Linked DNA regions of Homo sapiens: region 1 is linked to region 2. The links are contacts of gene promoters, found by promoter capture Hi-C in human tissues and cell types (Jung and others, 2019). All regions are on one chromosome and are shown on one strand. The core of a region is centred on a gene start or on the middle of the fragment in contact, and the rest is flanking DNA. Distances in the headings are between cores, read along the strand shown.

Evidence for each region. The method cuts DNA at HindIII sites, captures the fragments that hold promoters and counts their contacts. A contact is called where the count stands out against the background at its distance.
Region 1: a contact is called between a fragment that was not itself captured here and the fragment with the promoter of MYCL in region 2, in 6 of the 25 tissues and cell types used here (IMR-90 fibroblasts, dorsolateral prefrontal cortex, hippocampus and 3 more).

The regions. Positions count from the first base shown.
Region 1 is chr1:39,997,930-40,003,042 of GRCh38, forward strand. No RefSeq gene overlaps it. Among named protein-coding and RNA genes, the nearest start is that of CAP1, 40 kb to the right of the region's middle. The HindIII fragment of the contact is 5,951 bases long and covers 532-5,113 here.
Region 2 is chr1:39,899,512-39,904,537 of GRCh38, forward strand. It overlaps MYCL (MYCL proto-oncogene, bHLH transcription factor), which reads right to left and starts at 2,406. Exons shown (of 2, transcript NM_001033081.3): 1 at 1,428-2,406. The coding sequence starts at 1,923. RefSeq lists silencers at 1,660-1,779, 2,190-2,509, 2,770-2,979. The HindIII fragment of the contact is 12,166 bases long and covers 1-5,026 here.

The DNA of each region.
Region 1 (5,113 bases), core at 2,257-4,756, 100 kb after region 2:
AAAGAAAGAAAGAAACTTTACAAAATCTTCAGTTTGCCAGTCCCTGAAGTATGGAGGAGATGAAGTTGAGTTTTGTGGATCTGAAGATTATATCGTTTTGGCAGGTGCTTTTTTATGGTTAGTCTTAAACATAAAAAAAATTACTGAAGGCATACTTCAGTAAATCTTTAAGGTCCTGCTTTAGAGATGATGAAGGGGAGGCTATTGTTAGCACCTGGGAGGTACTAATGCTGGTTAAGTCGCTTTGTACAATTTTGCCTAAGACTGGAACTACTTAAGTAACTACAAATCCTGGGATTACAGGCACGTGCCACCATACCTGGCTAATTTTTGTATTTTTAGTACAGACGGGGTTTCACCATGTTGGCCAGGATGGTCTTGAGCTTCTGACCTCAGGTGATATGTCTGCCTCGGCCTCCCAAATTGCTGGGATTACAGGCGTGAGCCACTGTACCTAGCCAGTTTTTTGTTTGTTTGTTTTGAGATGCAGTCTTGCTCTGTCGCCCAGGCTGGAGCGCAGTGGCACAATCTCAGCTCACTGCTGCAACCTCCACCTCCCGGGCTCAAGCGATTCTCCTTCCTGCCTCAGCCTCCCAAGTAGCTGGGATTACAGGTGCCTGCCACCATGCCTGGGTAATTTTTTGTATTTTTAGTAGAGATGGGGTTTTGTCATGTTGGCCAGTCTTGTCTCAAACTCCTGACCTCAAGTGATCTGCCCACCTTGGCCTCTCAAAGTGCTGGGATTATAGGCATGACACTGTGCCCAGCCACTTCTAGTTAAGTTCAATAAGCCAAGTTCAGTTTAATAAGCTGCGTTCCAAGAAGTTGAAATGCGTCATGCCCAGATTTCAGTGGTTCACAGCCCATATCTTCAGTGGCAGAGAGACAAGACCAAGTGGAACTATCTATTGCAAACTGGTGTCCGTGTTGTTCTGTGAAGAAGGGATGATCAAGTGAATATGCAGTTTCACCATCAAGATATTTAGGAACATCTTTCCCAATGGGGTTTCACTGATATCCATGCAGCCAGCAATCTGTCAGAATTCTTAGGAAGGACTCAGAGCAGTGTTTGCTGTGTTAAGAGTATGAATCCTCTCCCTCTCCCTCTCCCTCTCCCTCTCCCTCTCCCCCTCCCCCTCCCCCTCCCCTTTCCACGGTCTCCCTCTCATGCGGAGCCGAAGCTGGACTGTACTGCTGCCATCTCGGCTCACTGCAACCTCCCTGCCTGATTCTCCTGCCTCAGCCTGCCGAGTGCCTGCGATTGCAGGCACGCGCCGCCACGCCTGACTGGTCTTGGTGGAGACGGGGTTTCGCTGTGTTGGCCGGGCCGGTCTCCAGCCCCTAACCGAGAGTGATCCGCCAGCCTTGGCCTCCCGAGGTGCCGGGATTGCAGACGGAGTCTCGTTCACTCAGTGCTCAATGGTGCCCAGGCTGGAGTGCAGTGTTGTGATCTCCGCTCGCTACAACCTCCACCTCCCAGCCGCCTGCCTTGGCCTCCCAGGGTGCCGAGATTGCAGCCTCTGCCCGGCCGCCACCCCGTCTGGGAAGTGAGGAGTGTCTCTGCCTGGCCGCCCATCGTCTGGGATGTGAGGAGCCCCTCTGCCTGGCTGCCCAGTCTGGAAAGTGAGGAGCGTCTGCGCCCGGCCGCCATCCCATCTAGGAAGTGAGGAGCGCCTCTTCCCAGCCGCCATCACATCTAGGAAGTGAGGAGCGTCTCTGCCCGGCCGCCCATCGTCTGAGATGTGGGGAGCGCCTCTGCCCCGCCGCCCCATCTGGGATGTGAGGAGCGCCTCTGCCCGGCCGAGACCCCGTCTGGGAGGTGAGGAGCGTCTCTGCCCGGCCGCCCCGTCTGAGAAGTGAGGAGACCCTCTGCCTGGCAACCACCCCGTCTGAGAAGTGAGGAGCCCCTCCGCCCGGCAGCTGCCCCGTCTGAGAAGTGAGGAGCCTCTCCGCCCGGCAGCCACCCCATCTGGGAAGTGAGGAGCGTCTCCGCCCGGCAGCCGCCCCATCCGGGAGGGAGGTGGGGGGTCAGCCCCCCCACCCGGCCAGCCGTGCCGTCCGGGAGGGAGGTGGGGGGGTCAGCCCCCCGCCCGGCCAGCCGCCCCGTCCGGGAGGTGAGGGGCGCCTCTGCCCGGCCGCCCCTACTGGGAAGTGAGGAGCCCCTCAGCCCGGCCACCACCCCGTCTGGGAGGTGTGCCCAACAGCTCATTGAGAACGGGCCAGGATGACAATGGCGGCTTTGTGGAATAGAAAGGCGGGAAAGGTGGGGAAAAGATGGAGAAATCGGATGGTTGCCGTGTCTGTGTAGAAAGAAGTAGACATGGGAGACTTTTCATTTTGTTCTGCACTAAGAAAAATTCTTCTGCCTTGGGATCCTGTTGATCTGTGACCTTACCCCAACCCTGTGCTCTCTGAAACATGTGCTGTGTCCACTCAGGGTTAAATGGATTAAGGGCGGTGCAAGATGTGCTTTGTTAAACAGATGCTTGAAGGCAGCATGCTCGTTAAGAGTCATCACCAATCCCTAATCTCAAGTAATCAGGGACACAAACACTGCGGAAGGCCGCAGGGTCCTCTGCCTAGGAAAACAAAGGTTCACTTGTTTATCTGCTGACCTTCCCTCCACTATTGTCCCATGACCCTGCCAAATCCCCCTCTGTGAGAAACACCCAAGAATTATCAATAAAAAAATAAATTAAAAAAAAAAAAAAAAAAAGAGTATGAATGCTGAGGCCGGGTGCAGTGGCTCACGCTTGTAATCCCAGCACTTTGGGAGGCTGAGGTGGGCAGAACACCTGAGGTTGGGAGTTTGAGACCAGTCTGGCCAACATGGTGAAAACCCGTCTCTACTAAAAACACAAAAATTAGCCAGGTGTGGTGGTGCATGCCTGTAATCCCAGCTACTTGGGAGGCTGAGGCATGAGAATTGCTTGAACCTGGTAGGCAGAGGTTGCGGTGAGCTGAAATGGCGCCACCGCACTCCAGCCTGGGCAACAGAGTGAGACTCTGTCTCAAAAAAAAAAAAAGTATATGGATGCTGATGACATGAGATGGTTAGGACAGAAGATTTCTCATCCCGTAAGCAACCTGATAACCTCGTACCAGCCAAATGGAAGGCCACAGGAGCTTTGCATTTGCTGCTCCCTTCCCCTAGTTCTTCATGTCTCCTATTCCTGGTAATTGTCATAAAACCTAGGAAGAGGAACTGAAAGCTTGCTTTCAAACAGGTGGAGTCCTTTAAGAAAAAGAATACAACCGGGCACGGTGGCTCACGCCTGTAATCCCAGCACTTTGGGAGGCCGAGGCAGGTGGATCATCTGAGGTCAGGAGTTCGAGACCAGCCTGGCCAACATGGTGAAACCCCATCTCTACTAAAAAATACAAAAATTAGCCAGGCGTGTTGGCAGGCGCCTTAATCCCAGCTACTTGGGAGGCAGAGACAGGAGAATCATTTGAACTCGGGAGGCAGAGGTTGCAGTGAGCCAAGATAAAGCCATTGCACTCAAACCTGGGGGACAAGAGCAAGACTTCTCTCAAAAAAGAAGAGAAAAGAAAAAGAATACAAAAGTATGAATACAAAATTAGGTACAAGTTCTTGGAAAAGTGTTTTGCAAGTAAGGGTTCTTAAATTTTAAGCTTCCTTAGCTTCATGGTAAATATGCCTCTAAGCCTGCCTGAGATTTGGGAAACTTCTTTCTGCCTGCTTTATTTCTGGCCATCAGTCCTTCTGGAAGGCAATGTGGAAAAGGACCAAATTCCACCATATTAATTACTGCTGAATGGGTAGCATAACATCAGAGCAGGAAGCCTGGATCATCACAGAAACCAGCCTTTCACTAGCTCATTAAAGGTCAACTTTGAAATGAGAGAAACAAGTAGAAATAGCAAGAATCTATCCGGAAAACATCCGGGTTATTATGACTATTTTCTCAGCATTATGCTGATTGTTCAGAGGTTGTTTGTACTGTATTATGAAGTGTGGAAAAGAGCCAAGATGATTAGGCCAACCTCTGTTATTTATAAGTTCCCTTGGCAGTAAGATCTCCCTCCTTTTTTTAAAAAAAAAAATTAATTTGCTAGGGATGGAATATCACACCATTTTTAATGAGATGGCCCCTGGCTTGCTATAGTATAGCCAGGGATGACACAGAAGCTATGTTTTCCAGCTATCTTTTTTTTTTTTTGAGATGGAGTCTCGCTCTGTCACCCAGGCTAGATTGCAGTGGCTGATTTTGGCTCACTGCAACCTCGGCCTCCAGGGTTTAAGCAATTCTTCTGTCTCAGCCTCCTGAGTAGCTGGGATTACAGGCGCTGGCCATCACACCCAACTAAATTTCATATTTTTAGTAGAGACAAGGTTTTGCCATGTTGGCCAGGCTGGAAGCTGTCTTTTAAATTGACCTGTGACTATATATCTGATGTGATCTGATTTGTATTTTGAAAAGTTCCCCTAGCTGTTGTGTGGAGAGCTGATAGTGGGGACAAGAGTAAAAGCAGGCAAATGAGTTAAGGGGGTATTGCAGTGGTGTAGGCAGGAGATGATGTGGGTTTAGCGTTGGTAGGTGGGACTTCTGATAAGTGGTTGGATCCTGGATATCTTTTGAAGGGAGAGACAACAGGACTGCTAAAGAATTGAACGTGAGGTGGGTGGGGTGGGGGTTGAGAGATGGGAGGAAAAGAGGATTGAAGGTTGCTTCCTAGAGTTTGGCCTGACCTAGTAGATGAAATTACAGAAAAAAGGAAGATGGCTGGGCGCAGTGGCTCATGCCTGTGATCCCAGCCCTTTGGGAGGCCGAGACGGGAGGATCACTTGAGGTCAGGAGTTCGAGACCAGCCTGGCTAACATGGTAAAACCCCATCTCTACTAAAAATACAAAAAATTAGCTGAGTGTGGTGGCACACGGCTGTAATCCTAGCTACTCGGGAGGCTGAGGTAGGAGAATCGCTTGAACCCAGGAGGTGGAGGTTGCAGTGAGCCAAGATTGTGCCATTTCACTCTAGCCTGGGCGACAAGAGCAAAACTCCATCTCAAAAAAAAAAAAAAAAAAGAGAAAGAATAAAGAAAAATGGAAGATGAGGGTAAACACATGTTTGAAAAAGACAATTGAGAATT
Region 2 (5,026 bases), core at 1,156-3,655:
CAGCGAAGTCCACATATCACCTTTGTAACGTTCTGGATCTCAAACTAAAATGTCCAACTTCCAAAGCAATGCTCTTTCCACTCTACCACTCCACCAGCCGTTGTAGAGATACATCTTTATTGGTTTTTTGATCTCAAGATTCTCTTTCCAGCCATTAAACAAACATAAACTCTTGGTGTAGAAAGCAAGCTGGTTAAAAATGACCTTAACACAGTGGACCAGGAAAAAAAAGACTTTTAATTTTTGTTATCCTATTTTTTCTCTCAAGTGTAGGAAAACTTCCATACCCCATTCCCCAGTTCCCTATCAAATGGTCGTGTAAAAGTTATTCCTAAAAGCTACAGTGAGCTTTCTTGGTCCTAATTTATTTGTCACTAGCCACAGTCTACACTCTACAAAAATACCCTCTCCAGGATTTCTCACGGGTGTGGAGGTCTAAGATGCCAGAATAAGAACAATGTAGTTTAGTGGCACAGGATGCCCCAGTCTGCCCTCAGCGAGGTTGCACTTGCATCAAGGATGGGAGAGGAGGGCCTGGAGTTCTACTGCCTTGACCCCAGCATGTAGCCCACAGATTGCCACAAAGTAGGGGCCAGTGAATATTTGTTGAATGCCAGGGAGCAGCTGACGCTGGAGATCTATTGAGGGGGAGCAAGAAGGACACTTTTCCATCTCAGGACAAACAGCAAGGCAAGGTGTAGTGCTTCTAAGATAAGCTACCACAAAGACCCCAAACATCAAGGAAGAGGTGCCTGGTTGGGATGGAGCATTGGGGAAGAGGGGCTGGCTAGATGGCAGAAAGCTGGAGCTGACTTGTAGTGATTGTCTATCTCTAAGCCTCAGTTTTTCCATCTGTTAATGGGGAGTGTTCATTCTTCCCTCCCTGTCTCAGGGATGCACGAGTGGTAAGTGGTGGTGGGGAGGCACGAGAAGAGGGCATTTATTATTGGCATTTTAAAGTAAAGCCAACTGGAGACCTAGGTTTTTAAAAGGACGAAGGTTTTGGCTTTGCACAAAAGGCTCTCGGCTTCTTCTCCCCCTAGGGGAGTGTGAGTTTCCTAGGGAAAGAGGCAGCAGCAAAAAAACTTCAGGTTTGGAGTGTCTCTTAAGGTACCCCCTTCAATCCCTTACAGTCCAACCCCAGTATTGTCCTCTCTAAGCGCCAACCCTCACCTCAAATCCCTTGTCCCCTGGGGCTCCAATAATCATCAAAGGGAGGCTGGCTCCCACGCCACTTTTCCAAACTGTTTACCAACACACCCACGTGCCAGACAGACACGGTTGGGGACTACACGGGCAGCTTCAGCCAAAGAGAGGCGGAGATGGCCCAAGAGCTTGAGAAGAGCCAATGCCTGACCTCAGGCAGGGGCAGAGCTTTGGCCACCCATGGGGTGGCCCCCTCTTGGATGGCTCGGGGAGGTCCTTACCCGAGTCGCTTGGGCTCTCGGACCCGGAGCAGGCCTGGGTCTTGGGTTCGCCCAGCGGACAGGGGGCGGCGGGCGCCGGGTTGCCGGCTTCGAGGCTGGGAGTGCAGTCCGGGGCGGCGGACGCCTTGGGCGGGTTCCCCCGGGGCGCGCCAGGAGCGAGCCGGTCGCTCACAGCTCTCTCCAGCCGTTCCCGGGCCGAGAAGCCGCTCCACATGCAGTCACGGCGTATGATGGAGGCGTAGTTCCTGCCCCAGCCTTTCGAGTGGCCCCGGGATTCCGCTTCGTCTCCGGTGCACCCTCCGGGCCACGGCTCCGGGGGACCAATCCCGGGGGCCGGGTCCCCTGCGCCGGGACCCAAGCCCCAGGGCGGCGACGTGGGGGGCGATGGCACCAGCTCGAATTTCTTCCAGATGTCCTCGCTGGGCGCCGTGGAGCGGTAGAAATCCTCCCCGCAGTCATAGTCGTAGAAATAGTGCTGGTACGAGTCGTAGTCCATGTCCGCTCCCTGCGGGAGGGAAGGGGGGACGTGCTGACCGGGTGCCGGCCGGGCGAAGGAGGTGTCCCCGGGTCCCTCGGCACAGTCGGCTGCCGGGCTCTCGTTCCTCCCCAACCCCACCAGCTTGCAGCCTGCGCCCAGTCCTCGCGTCCCGGGAAGCCGGGCCCCGGGTCAGAGTGGTAGGGGAAGCCAATCGCAGCGCGCGGACCCGACTGTGGGCAGCGAGTTCAAAGCAAACTTTGCCAGCGCCGCCCGGAGCGCAGCTCCCAGGGCCCGGCGGGGCCGGGCGGGGGCGCGCCGTGCCCAGAAGGCAGCCTGCAGCCAGCCCGCACCGCGGGACCCGCGCCCGTGCCCTGGCCACCCGCAGCCTCACCTCGCTCCAGCCGCCCGCCACCTGGAGCGGACCGGCTCCCCGCCGGCTCGGGGCAGCCCGGCAGCCAGCACACACGCACATGCGCGCCGCCGAGAGCGCGGCCCGCACTCACAAGCGCGCCCCCCCCGCGCGCGCGCCCTCCCTCGCTCGCGCACGGCGGCCCGGACGCTCTCGGGATCGGCGCGGGAGCGCGAGCTGCAGGCGCATTGTTTCCTGACTGCCTTATATCTCGTCGCGCGCCCGGGACCCAGGGACTGGGGGGCGGGCCCTATGGGACAAACCCCGCCCTCTCCCTGCCTACTACGGGCAGTCGACAGGTGGGGCCGGCCCCACCTCCTGGCAGCGCTCGCCCGCTCCGTTCAATCCCCGGTAGCCCCCCAAATAAATTGCACGCTGGGGAGCGCAAACAGGAGGAGGGCTGATGCGGCCCGGCGGCCGCTTGGCGGTGCCAGCCGGCTGAGCTAAACCGTGCTCCTTGCCCACTCCGAGCTGGGGAATTAGGGCTACTCCCCGCCCCACCCTGCGCGCCTACTTTCCCCGGCGCACCCCGCTGGGTTCAGGTGCGCCCGAGCCGCCGCGAGGGGTAGGGGGAGGGAAACGCGCCACCTGGCGGCCCTCAGCCCTGAACTTGGGCTGGTCCCGGCGTCCGTCTGGTCACCCGTCGGCCCGTTTCTTGAGCTCAGTGGCCCAAGCCTGGATGGCATCGAAGCGAAGATTCCGGGATTTAGAGCCCGAAACGTAACCTTCCTGAGCTTCAGTTTCATCTGTAAAATGAAGGGATGGTAATGCTTACCTCACAGGGTTGTTGTGAGGCTTCAGGGAAATAAGAGCATCTAGGGAAGGGGTCTGGTCTAGGTGGAGAGGCAGACGGCGCTGGCTTAGCCCCCGCTTTGGGGAGGCGGTGCAGAAATGAGGAATTTTTCCCAGGGCAAAGCCAGCTGAGACCCGCCATGCTCCCTCTCATCTCACACAAAACACTGTAGGAGCTGTACAGTAGAGAATGAGGATTTGGCATCTGGAAAATACTGCAGGACCAAGTTGTTTCAAGTTTTGCCCTGCATTGCTGGCCAAGATGATAGATAACCCCTTTGTATAATCTTCTTTTTAAATTTTAAATATATTTTGTTAAGAGACAGGGTCTCACTCAGCGTCAAGGCTGGAGTGCAGTGGCTCGATCATGACTCGCTGCAGCCTCGAACTCCTGGGCTCAAATGATCCTCCCTCCTTAGCCTCCGAAAGTGCAGGGATTACAGGCACGGGTCACCGTGCTGGGTCCCCCTTTGTGTCATCTTCTACACAGATGACCTTTGGTGGAAGAGAAAAAATTAAACTATACGGCCAGTCTGAGATTTAGGCCAGAGGAGAGTAACTTGGGACAGCAGCCAATACATCTAGATTCCTCCACCTGGCATCAAGGTCTGGTGTCTGTCTACCCCAGCCTGATTGTCTGCTGTCTCTCTCTTTCCCTCCCACCCCTGTGGTCTAAGAACACCAAACTACTCACTGTTGGCAGACGGAAGTGAGAAGGGCAAGCAATTCAGTGTGGTTGGAGCATGGGACACGGATGTGTGTTGTTATATGGGTTGGGAAGGCAGGGAAAATGACAGCCTTCCGTTTTAGATACGTTGGGTCTGTGCTGCATGTGGGACATCTTGAAGGCAGAAACCTGCTCCTACTTGCTTTGTGATTTCTGCACCTAGAACAGCTTCTGGCAGACATTTGTGAACTAACTGACTTACTGAGGGACTCAGCTAACCAGATTTCACTGAGACAGCTTGTGTGCCCTGCTTTGTGCTAAACGGAAGACACAAATCAGAAGGGTTCCAGGTTTGGTTGCAGCCCCAAGGCACAGGCATTGGATTGTCCTTTAGTGACTTTTCTCTGGTCCACAGATGTCTGAGATGGTTGCTGTACTAGTCTGGGTTATTGGTTACAAATAACAAAAACCAACCTTAGGCAGGGCACAGTGGCTCACGCCTGTAATCCCAGCACTTTGGGAGGCTGAGGCGGGCAGATCACAAGGTCAGGAGATCGAGACCATCCTGGCTAACACGGTGAAACCCCATCTCTACTAAAAATACAAGAAAATTAGCCGGGTGTCGTGGTGGGCACCTGTAGTCCCAGCTACTCAGGAGGCTGAGGCAGGAGAATGGCGTGAACCCGGGAGGCGGAGCTCACAGTGAGCCGAGATTGCGCCATTGCACTCCAGCCTGGGCGACAGAGCGAGACTCTGTCTCAAAACAAAAAAACAAAACAAAACAAACAAACAAAAAACCAACCTTAGACAAATGTAAGCAGAAAATGACTTTATTGGAATAATTGGTGGTATAGACCTCAAGGGAGGCTGGAAATTTATGTTTGGAGAATGGGCCTTCTTTACCTAGACTACAGCCCCCACCCTGCAGCTCTTCCCATGGTTTCATTGTAGATGATATATGGGGGCAACCAGGAGGTGCTGCCCCTCCTCAAGAAGTAGGAAAAAGGAAATTAAGTTGTCTTCTGAGAGTTAACACTGCTTCTTCACTTTGCATACTTTTGTTTGTTTAATGTCTTCCTCGTCAGACTGTAAACTGAATGAGGGCAGACAAATGTCAGCCTTATTCATGGCTGTACCCCAGGGCTTTAGAACAAAGCCTGGCACATCATGGGTGCTGAGTATATGACTGAACACAAAACTCTAATGTTTTAGTTTTTGCGTTTTTTTTTTTTTTCCTTTAAGACAAGTCTCAC